4 separate regions of the Homo sapiens genome follow, and regions 2, 3 and 4 are each linked to region 1. Evidence: promoter capture Hi-C in 16 types of primary human blood cells and fetal thymus (Javierre and others, 2016). All regions are on one chromosome and are shown on one strand. Each heading gives the region's core, a stretch centred on a gene start or on the middle of the fragment in contact. The rest is flanking DNA. Distances are from core to core; before and after follow the strand shown. Region 1 holds the start of ODF1 (outer dense fiber of sperm tails 1). Region 2 overlaps UBR5 (ubiquitin protein ligase E3 component n-recognin 5). Region 3 overlaps UBR5 (ubiquitin protein ligase E3 component n-recognin 5). Region 4 overlaps UBR5 (ubiquitin protein ligase E3 component n-recognin 5).

What was found. The method cuts DNA at HindIII sites, captures the fragments that hold promoters and counts their contacts. A CHiCAGO score of 5 or more calls a contact.
Region 2: a contact is called between a fragment that was not itself captured here and the fragment with the promoter of ODF1 in region 1, in 1 of 17 cell types (M0 macrophages). The highest score is 5.1, in M0 macrophages.
Region 3: a contact is called between a fragment that was not itself captured here and the fragment with the promoter of ODF1 in region 1, in 2 of 17 cell types (M0 macrophages and M1 macrophages). The highest score is 6.6, in M0 macrophages.
Region 4: a contact is called between a fragment that was not itself captured here and the fragment with the promoter of ODF1 in region 1, in 2 of 17 cell types (M0 macrophages and M2 macrophages). The highest score is 5.3, in M0 macrophages.

Annotation. Positions count from the first base shown.
Region 1 is chr8:102,550,227-102,552,926 of GRCh38, reverse strand. It overlaps ODF1 (outer dense fiber of sperm tails 1), which reads right to left and starts at 1,338. Exons shown (of 2, transcript NM_024410.4): 1 at 880-1,338. The coding sequence starts at 1,199. LOC124901998 (a long non-coding RNA gene) reads right to left here. Exons shown (of 3, transcript XR_007061039.1): 3 at 2,331-2,420. LOC105375684 (a long non-coding RNA gene) reads left to right here and starts at 2,299. Exons shown (of 2, transcript XR_928478.3): 1 at 2,299-2,384. The HindIII fragment of the contact is 343 bases long and covers 1,331-1,673 here.
Region 2 is chr8:102,308,576-102,311,275 of GRCh38, reverse strand. All of the region lies in intron 20 of UBR5 (ubiquitin protein ligase E3 component n-recognin 5), which reads left to right. Among named protein-coding and RNA genes, the nearest start is that of UBR5-DT, 70 kb to the right of the region's middle. The HindIII fragment of the contact is 634 bases long and covers 1,108-1,741 here.
Region 3 is chr8:102,399,439-102,402,138 of GRCh38, reverse strand. The region is part of intron 1 of UBR5 (ubiquitin protein ligase E3 component n-recognin 5); the gene reads left to right. Among named protein-coding and RNA genes, the nearest start is that of UBR5, 12 kb to the left of the region's middle. The HindIII fragment of the contact is 810 bases long and covers 955-1,764 here.
Region 4 is chr8:102,356,824-102,359,523 of GRCh38, reverse strand. The region is part of intron 5 of UBR5 (ubiquitin protein ligase E3 component n-recognin 5); the gene reads left to right. Among named protein-coding and RNA genes, the nearest start is that of UBR5, 55 kb to the left of the region's middle. The HindIII fragment of the contact is 5,548 bases long and covers 1-2,700 here.

The DNA of each region.
Region 1 (2,700 bases), core at 89-2,588:
AATATGTAAGATGCTTCATCAATCCTTTCTATATTTACTTATTATTCCAGTGCATGAATGTATTATTTATTTAACCAGGGACAGCACTTTCAACCATCTTTTTCATCAACAGTAACAGACTAAATGGCATATGTAAAAAGTTAGAAAAGGAAAGTTTTCTCCAGGCAAAAAGAAAATATAATCTAAAACAAAAATTTTTTTAAAAAACTGACTCTTTTTAATTACCCAATTCAATTAAAAAGCCTTTCAAGTCTATCCTGAAAGCTACAACTCAGTGCCATAGTTTATTTGCAAGACCTTTGCTAGAGTTAGAGGGGAGGCCAACATGATAGACCTAATTCCAGATACAAGGTAAGTCTTTGCCTGGAGTGGGGGGATAGGAGAATGATATTCCCACAAAACCAAGGCAATGCCTCTACTGTTCAATTTGCTCTCCTGCTTGTAAAGCCTCTGGCACACATTAAGGATTTGATCTATTATTATTACTTCTCCTGTAGTCATTTCTGTAAGTCCAAATATACTCAAATCACTTTACTCATAACCAGGAAAAATGTTTAGTTTGCTGCTTCCAATGGCTTTTTAATGACACCCCCTGTTTCTTCCCTTCATTAAAGCCGCATTATTTATCATACTGGCATTCTTGCTATAAACCACCGACGACCTTGCCAATCGACATCATTACATTGTCTTTTGAGAACCCTACAATTCCCATCATGGACTCATTTACTCTTCTTTCCTTAAATCTTTCCTAAGTCACCAGGGTCATTATCCTGAACCCTTTTAATCTTTGTTCAACTATTGATTGTCACATATTTTTCCTTATTCCAACTTATAAGGCTAATATACCGACTATAAAAATTTAAAAATAAGTTATTTTACTTGGCAAGCTCTCGCTTCTCATCTTCTATGGCTCTGATGGCTTTCCTCTCCAAACTTCTGAGAGATGGTCGCAGACAGTAAAGCTTATAATCACACAGGCAACATGGGTAGAGATCACACAGGCCGCAAGAGCGTGATCGCTTGGAATAGCACAAGCAGTACGGATATGGGTGCAAGTCACAGCAGCAATAGGGGTGCATATACAAGTCGCACAGGCACCGTGTGCTAAATTCGTCGATGCATCTCAGTTGCCTTAGTTCTCTGTCCACCTTCTTTATGTCCCTTCTGACACTGTCCAAGAGACAACTCAGTGCAGCCATTATGGTCACACCTGATTGTTCTGTGAGTACCTTTGGGAAATGGCACTCCGGGAAAAAATTTGTTCTAAGCCCTTCTCAGAAGTTGCTTTTAAAAATAAATGAGGCACACATGATTCACTTACTTTAAAGCTTGTGTTCTATGACCTCACCACCTTCTGAAGTATGTCATAGTCTTCTGGTTACCATGTGAACTGTACACAGTCATGGTCTCCAGAGACCATCCTCAGAGTTACAGAGCTACTCTCAGAACCATACTCGTGTTGAGATTTCACTCACCTTCAAGGAGGATGGGTCTCCCAAGCGAGCATAGCTCATCGGGGTGCATGGGGCTGGCCACTAACATCCTTGCCTTGTGTGTGCTCTGGGGACCAGCCATGGCTATGACTGTGTGTTTGTTGAACTTGGTGCAGGCGAAGGCAGGAGCTGCCCACGCCTTTCTCCATGACCTTCTAGCTCTAGCCTTGATTGGAAGCTTGGCCTTGCTCCTTTTGTTCTAGAATTCATTCTGTCTCCAGACAGGTAGAATATAAAGAATGTTCTCATCATTCTCCTCCTACCAAGTCATCCTCAAGTCAGCCATTGTCCTTGACCTTCTGAGTTACAAGTCTCTGAGTCCTGCCCATTCTGCGCCAGCTGTGGTCATGGCTGTTCGGGAACCTCATTTCTCTACTGGTTGGGGGTCCTGTCCTTAAGCTCCCATCTGTCAGTCCTCGGGGGCCTGTCCTGGGGAACTACCTCCCATCAACTACACCTTTGGTCTTGCATCCAAGCCTCCGGATGTCTTGTCCCTGAGTGCTTCCCAAATGTTGGTCTTTGATGTTCTTGTAGCCAACCGCCTGAAGATGCTGGAAGCCAACTGCCTGAAACCCCCGCTTCGGCCAGTTTCCTTTACTTTCTGTTCAGTTAACATCCTAGACCTCTGATTCGGCCTCAGATTTGGCTCTCGGTGCCTCTACTCCTCTGGTCCTTTCACCTCAAACTGCGGTCCAGCTCTCGAGTCTCCCTTGTATGAACTAGAGCTCAGGTATTGATGACAAGTGGTTGGATGTGACACTGGTGAGGGAGACAAGGGCCAGGTTTGAAGGGACCTGTAGCCAGACTAAGGACTCTGAACTTTATTTTGAGCCCAACGAAGGATTGTTGATTTTCTTTTCTTTTGTCAGAAGTGAGACAGCCACACTGAAGGTAAGTTGCTAGGGACAATAGTAGTGGGGTTTTCTGCTGCAAGACAAGAAGAGACAACAAAAATCTGGACTGGGGATCATGGCTATGGGGATGGCAAGGAGGAAGCCAATGGGAAAGCCTTCCCCCACCTCTGCCCAGGCCCCATCTAATCCATTTTCCACATTGTAGCCACAGCGACTTTCATATAGAAATCTGTCATTCCTCAACCTTCCCCACCCATCATCCCACTCACCTTAAAAGTCTTCTCTGTCCTCTCAAAAAAAGGACCAAAATCTTTACCAGGTGCTGAGCAATGGGGCCTCTCCCACTTCCCCAC
Region 2 (2,700 bases), core at 175-2,674, 240 kb after region 1:
GGGCATTTTAATTCACAAAACACCACTAAATAGTCTTGAATAGATCTTGCAACAATCTTAAATAGATCATTCATTGCCCCTTTCTTCCCTAAAAGAGCTAATGGTCTATTAAAACTACATAGACAAGTACATCAGTGATTATCGTGTAATTTAAGTGTTTGAGCAAGGCATGCATAATGTTGTAGGAGCACAAAGGGGAGAGATATAAATCATACTGTGACTGTACCAAAGACTTCTTTAAGAAGCGATACCCGGACAGATCAGATAGGCCCCTTAGACACAGGGATGGAGTTGGGAGGTATTATCCCAGGCACCAAGAGCAACCTTTGTGAATCTTATTAATAAGTTGGGAGAAAGTACTTTTTTTTGATATGACCAGAATTCTGGTAGGGATCCTGTGGGTCAGTGAGTAGCAACTGAAAAGGCTGGAGAGGGGCACTAGGGTGTTTGTGTGTTCACCTAACGCTACCTAAACTTCAGCCTGAAAGCGAGGAGGAGGAGGAGGATTATAAGCCAGTGAATGACGTGCTTTTGATTTTTTAAAAAAGATCAGCAGTGGCTGGTGGGTGTTTAGAGAGCAGCTGATAGATATCAGAAGTTTAGAGATCAGATAAAAAGGTTAATGTAGGCTGGGCGTGGTGGCTCACGCTTGTAATCCCGGTACTTTGGGAGGCAGAGTGTGGGGTGGATCACTTGAAGTCAGGAGTTTGAAGCCAGCCTGGCCAACATGGTGAAACCCTATCTCTACTGAAAATACAAAAATTAGCCCGGCATGGTGGCGCACGCCTGTAATCCCAGCTACTCAGGAGGCTGAGGCACAAGAATCACTTGAACCCCGGAGGCGGAGGTTGCAGTGAGCCGAGATCGCGCCACTGAACTCCAGCCCGGGCAACAGAGCGTGACTCCGTCTCAAAACAAACAAACAAACAAACAAAAAACATTTTAAAAAAAGGGAAAAAGTCAGGCAATAATCCAGGTTAGAAACAAAGTAAATGTCAACTTTTGGAAATGAGGAAGGAGGGGATGGATTTAAGAGATCTTAAGAAACTAGAACCTGTAAAGCTTGGTAACTGGATTTTAGCAGTGAATGAAAGAATTAATAAAGCTTCTGATTTGGGCATGGTTGATGGTAGAGAAGAAATATAGGAGGGGGAACAAATGGGATAAGGGAAAAGGATGAATTTAGTTTTAAACATGTTGTGGTTTGTTGTGATAGAGTATTTGTTAGATGTGGAGACAGTGCATTAGAAGCTATTGGAGCAATTTCAGCCGAGATTGACCTGATATCAGTGAACATTTTAAAAGGATTCCTTATGACGTGCTGAGAGTACTAGGGTGAAAGTGAGTAAATAGGAGTGCCAGTTAGGAGGATATAATAATAATCCAGGTGGGAGATGATAGTGACTTACCCAGGGGGTGGAGTTAGGAGTGAAATGTGACTAGATTCTAGTTACGTAGTCATGTGTTGCTTAATGACAGGGATACATTCTGAGAAATACATTGTTAGGTGATTTCATTGTTGTACAAACATCACATAGTGCACTTACATGAACCTAGATGGTATAGCCTATTGCTCCTAGGGTATAAACCTATATAGTGTATTTCTGTACTGGATACCGTAGGCATTTGTAACACAGTGATAAGTAGTTGTTTACATAAACATAGGAAAGGCACAGTAAAAATACGGTCTAAAGGATAAAAAAAAGGTGCACCTGATAGGGCATTTAGCACAAATGAAGCTTAGAAGATTGAAAGTTGCTCTGGGTAAGTCAGTGAGTGAGTGGTAGGTGAATGTGAGGGCTTATGTTATTACTGTACACTGCTGTAGACTTTATAAACACTGTACACTTAGGCTACACTAAATTTTTTTTAACCTTTTGATTTGTTTGTAATAATAATATGCTTAAAACACATTGTACACAGTCGGGCATGGTGGATTGTACCTGTAATCCCAGCATTTTGGGAGGCCAAAGTGGATGGATCCCTTGAGGCCAGGAGTTTGAGGCCAGCCTGGGCAACATAGCGAAACCCTGTCTCTACAAAAAATACAAAAATTAACCGGGTGTGGTTGTGCCTGTAATCCCAGCTACTTAAGAGGCTCAGGCACGAGAATCGCTTGAACCTAGTAGGTGAAGGTGGAGGTTGCAGTGAGCTGAGATCATGCCACTGCACTCCAGCCTGGGCGACAGAGTGAGACTCTGTCTTACACACACACACACACACACACACACACACACATTGTGTAGCTATCTAAAAAATAACTTTCTTTCCTATATCCTTAAGGGTTTTTTGGGGGGGAGGGGCAGAGTTTTCATTTCTTTCTTTCTTTCTTTTTTTTTTTTTTAAAAAAAAAACTTTTAGGCTTGGGAGTACATGTGAGATTTTACTGCAGGGTAAACTCATGTACAGGGTTTTTTGTACAGATTGTTTCATCACCCAGGTATTAAGCACTTTTTCTATATTTAAAATTTTTTACTGCCTTTTTAAAAAATGTGCAATTTACAATGCCTTCTTCTGTAATACCTCCTGAAGGACCTGCCTTAGGCTGTTTTAGTTAACTTTAAAAAAAATAGATAGAAGAAGTACATTCTAAAGTAACCAAAGAAAGTATAGTAAATACTTTAGAAATCAGTGACCTAGTTTTATCATTATCGAATATTATACTGTACATAAATTGTATGTACTGTACTTCTATATGAT
Region 3 (2,700 bases), core at 110-2,609, 150 kb after region 1:
GCCCAGGTAGTTCTCCCACCTCAGCTTCCCTAGTAGCTGGGACTACAGGTGCGTGCCACCACACCTGGCTAATTTTTGTGTTTTTCATAGAGATGGGGTTTCAGCATGTTGCCCAGGCTGGTCTCAAACTCTGACACTCAAGTGATTCTCCTGCCTCAGCCCCCAAAGTGCTTGGATTATAAGCATGAGCCACCATGCCTGGCTAAACATTCATTCTCTTAATAGGCTTATATTTCTAGTGATGTTTAAACTTGTCTTCATCTCCAGGAAATCCTTAGGTGTTTTCCTTAAGTGATTGTGTTTTTTCTGCTTATCAGGTATTCTGATTATTACATGTAGATTAGAGAATAATTGAGTAGGGGGAGTATGGGCAGTGGGACCTTTTGTTTCTGTAGTTGTTTTTTGGGGGAAGTACTTTTTTTTTTTTGCCTCCTATAGTCGCCAATAGAAGATTAACCCAAATTCCTGCTACCTGAGACGATTCCTGGTAGGATTTTGTCACTGCCTAGGGGATGCAGAAACAGAAATGAGTGACTTCTGTAGTGTAGGTTGGCAGGCCATGGTTTGCAGGTCAGAGATGACATGTGGACTGATTTTGTTGGCATCTGTTCATCTTTCTGCTACTTTTGAGAGCTGAGAGCTACTGAAGAGTACATACGACACTTGCCTGCAGAGACAGGAGTCAGTACTGTAGTACAGTACAGGAATTAGCAGCCACCCCATACCATCCCTGAATGTTTCTGGTTTCATGAAACTCTAGAGTGGCAGGGACTCGAGGACAGTTGGTATTTTGCTTTTCTCTAGGGTCTCTCTGCTCTTCAGAGGGCTCTGGGAATGTAAAAGCTTCTTCAATTGACATGTAGATTCAGTCTTTGTCTTCCTTTGGTCAATTTTAAGACATTATTGAGAGGTAATAGCATTTTTTGGGGATCGGGGACATGATATGGTTAAGCTTTTTTAAAGTAGAAGGTTTTTCGGACAGTTGAATTGAAATTATTGTATGAGTAACATAACCTAGTCAAATTGTAGTAAAATCATGGATTGTGGTGGCTTTTCCCAGTTAGGAGGTCTCTTGATTTAAAACAGTGCTTCTCATGGGATGGACCGTCATCAGGAGCAGCAAAACTTGAAGACCACTGAGTAAAAAGGCTCTTTTACCCTCTTTTCTTTGTCTTAACATTGATTGATGATGGCAAATAGGGCCAAACTTGCCAGTTCTTCACTGCCTCCAACCTTCCTTTTCCCCTTAGACTTACAGGTTTTATACCTGTCTGTTTGAGAATAGGGTATTTTCCTGTTCCTTGATTTTGTGTGTCTCTCTCTAAGCTAGAGTAGTTTATTTTTGTTCGCTTCTTTTTTTTTAACCACGAAATTGGAAAAATTTAGATTAAGTTACATAAATTCTAGGTCCTCTACACAACTGTGAGATACTGAAAGGATAGCTTTTTAAAATGCATTTCGGTGCTTGTAAGGTCACAGTCTAGTTGGGAGAAATGAGGCTCATCCATAGATAGTAGCACTATGAAAGACTGCTACAAGAGGTAGAGTTTGGGCTGTGTAAATATTTGCCATGCTATTGCTTGCACAGAGTTTGAGAACAGTGTTAGATTAGTTTTTCTTGTTGAGTAAATGCTTGTGTGCTTCTCATGTGCAAAAAGTGTGCTAGGCCAGGGATAGCTGGTGTGTTTCAATTGCCACACCAAACCGTCCTGAAACTTCGGGTTGAGACGTGTTTGGAACTTTTTCTGGCTCAGGGAGAAAGCTTGGAGAAGAGTGAGGTTATAGATTAGCGAGCTCAGGGAGTGGCATCAGGTGGGTATGCCATGTATTGTTTTTCTACCTTTCTTTTTTTTTGAGACAGGGTCTTGCTGTGTTGCCTAGGCTGATCTTGAACTCCTGGGCTCAAGCAACCCTCTTGCCTCAGCTTCCTGAGTAGCTGGGATTACAGACAAGTAGCTAGGATTACAGGTGAGTGCCACTGCACCTAGCTTGTTTTTCTAACCTTTTATTTTGAAATAATTACAGACTCAAAAGAAGATGCAAAATTGGTACAGAGGGGTACCATGGATCCATCACCCAACTTCCTTCAATGGTAACATATTATGCCAGATATTTTTGGCATCCATGTCAAAATACTAGAGATAGAGACATTTTCCCCATGTGCATTTTTGATTTTTTTTTTTTTTTTTTTTTGAGACAGAGTCTTGCTCTGTCACCCAGGGTGGAGTGCAGCGGTGCCATCTCGGCTCACTGCAACCCCCACCTCCTGGGTTCAAGCAATTCTCCTGCCTCAGCCTCCTGAGTAGCTGGGACTACAGGCGCCTGCCACCACGCCCAGCTAATTTTTTGTAATTTTAGTAGAGACTGGGTTTCACCATGTTGGCCAGGCTGGTCTCGAACTCCTGACCTCGTGATCCACCCGCTTTGGCCTCCCAAAGTGTTCGGATTACAGGTGTGAGCCACTGCACCCAGCCAAAAATTGTTTAAGATAACATAGATTTGAAGACATAGTTTAAAGAAAACTTTGCCTTTTTAGATGTGATTGTAAATTGATGAGATATAGGCTGGGCATAATGGCTCACGCCTGTAATCTCAGCACTTTGGGAGGCCGAAGCTGGCTGATCACCTGAGGTCAGGAGTTCGAGACCAGCACGGCCAATGTGGCGAAACCCTGTCTTTTTACTAAAAGTACAAAAATAA
Region 4 (2,700 bases), core at 83-2,582, 190 kb after region 1:
AATGATGTAATTAAACGTTATTTATTACTTTTATTTTTTTCTAGAGATAGGGTCTTGCTGTGTTGCCCAGGCTGGTCTTGAACTCCTGGCCTCAAGTGATTCTCCTGCTTTGGCCTCCCAGAGTTTTGGGATTACACGTCTGAGGCATTGCACTCAGACACTTTTATCTAAAGTTTATATACTGTTAAACTAAAGAAACCATATACAAATTTCAAGTCAGGTGCTTTTACTCATTTTATACCTTGATTCTTGAATGGCCAGATTTTCTGAAAATACCCAGTTAATGATTAGATTATGCTACTTCAGTCACCACGTGTTTGAAGGCTGATCACAGAAAACTAGAAGCAATGTAACTAGTTTCAAAATATAATTAAATGGAGGAGGAAGTGTTTGGCTTTTTTCCCTCCAGACCACAAATTGGTAGGTAAAGTAAAAGTTAGATTTGAAAATTGGGCCTGGGTGTGGTGGCTTACACCTCTCAGCACGTTGGGAGGCCAAGGTGAGTGGATCTGTTGAGTCCCAGAGTTTAAGACCAGCCTGGGCAACATGGCAAAATGCCATTTTTACTAAAAATACAAAAATGTAGCTGAATGTGGTGGCGCATGCCTGTAGTCCTAGCTACCCAGGAGGCTGAGGTGGGAGGATCATCTAAGCCCAGGAAGTTGAGGCTGCAGTGAGCCATGATAATGCCACTGTATGCCATCCTGGGCAATGGAAATGAGAGACCCCCGTCTCAAAAAAAAAAAAAAAAAAGAAAAGAAAAGGGTTGTGGGGGGGATACCAAAATGATTACTTTCTTTGCGTTTGTGTTTTCATGCTGAACTAAATTTATTTTAGAATGTGAGGAAAGTTTTTAGTTGAGTACATCCTTTAGCTATACTAAATATAGCTCTTGTCTTTATTAAAATGTTATATGTGCTCTTTTAATGGTCCTAGGCACACAGTATATGATAAAGAATTCTGAAAATAGCATGTAATAACATGAAATTTTATTTCATGTGATAAAACTGAAAAATTTTTGATTATATTTAAGAATAAGTATTACCGGTTATACTGTTGCCAAATAGTACCTTTCTTAAAGATGAACATTTTTTTGTTTAGTTTAAGGATCAGTAAAGTATAGCCTGCATGCCAAATCCAGCCACCCCAGTTTTTATTGAAAGACAGCCATACTTATTATCTGTGGCTGTCTTTGTACTATAACAGCAGAGATGAGTAGTTGGGACAGACTAGCCTCCAAAGCATAAACTATTTATGATTTGGCCCTTTACAGTAAAAGTCTGCTCATCCCAGGTTTTGCTTATCAGTTTATATACTGGCATTTGTTCCTAATCCTATACTCTATTTAGTTTTTATTTTTTAATTTTTAATTTTTTTTGAGACAGAGTCTTGCTCTGTCACCCAGGCTGGAGTGCAGTGGCACAATCTCGACTAACTGCAACCTCCGCCTCCCGGGTTCAAGCAATTCTCCAGCCTCAGCCTCCCAAGTAGCTGGGACTATAGGCGCGTGCCACCACGCCCTCCTAATTTTTGTATTTTTAGTAGAGACAGGGTTTCACCATTTTGGCCAGGTTGGTCTTGAACTCCGGACCTCAGGTGATCCACCCATCTCAGCATCCCAAAGTGCTGGGATTACAGGCCTGAGCCACCGCACCCAGCCTACTCTTATTTATTTTTAAATTTTATTTTTCATTTTGAAATAATTTGACCTTATAAAAAGTTTGCAAAAATAGCACAAATAATTTATGTGTACGTTGCACCCAGCTTCCGTGTTAATGTTTTACATTTACATAATCATATTATCAAAACCAAGAAATTAACATTGATCACTGATTAATATACAGAGTTTATTTAAGTTTCTCCAGTTGTCCACTAATACCCTTTTGTCCAGGATTCAGTCCAGGATCCCAGTTGCATTGAGTTGTCATGCTGCTGCTGCTGCTGCTTTTTTTTTAAATAGAGATAGGATCTTGTTCTGTTGCCCAGGCCAGAGGGCAGTGGCACAATGATAACTCACTATAACCTTGAACTCCTGGACTTAATGCAATCCTCCTGCCTCAGCCTCCCAAGTAGCTAGGATGTAGGTATGGGCCACCACCACACCTGGCTAACTTTTTAAAGTTTTGTAGGTAATTTTTAAATTTTTTGTGGAGACAGGGTCTCTCACTATGTTCCCTAAGCAGCCATGCTTCTTTAGTTTCCTCTAATCTGGGCCAGATCCTCAGTCTTTATCTTTCTGGCCATGATGAGTTTGAAAAACCAGTGGTTATTTTGTAGAATGTTTGGATTTGTTTATCATTTCTCGTGATTAAACTCAAGTGATACATTTTTTGCAAGAATACCACAGAAGTGATGATGTGCCCTTTTCAGTGCATCATATCAGGTGGCATGTGATGTTACTGTTGTTTTATTACTGGAAAGGAGGTGTCCTGTGATTAGTTAAGATGGTGTTTACCTGTTTCTCCACTATAAAGTTACTATTTTCCCATTTTTCTTTAATATGCATTTTGTGGGGAGATACTTTGTGACTCTGCAAATATCCTCTTCCTCATCATACTTTTGCTCACTGAGTTTAGCATTTATTGATGATTCTTTTTTTGTCTGAATCAGTTGTTACTGTGGTGTTGGCCAAATGGTGATTTTTTAAAAAAATTATCATTTCTTTTACATTTATTAATTGGAATTCAACTGTAAGGAAGA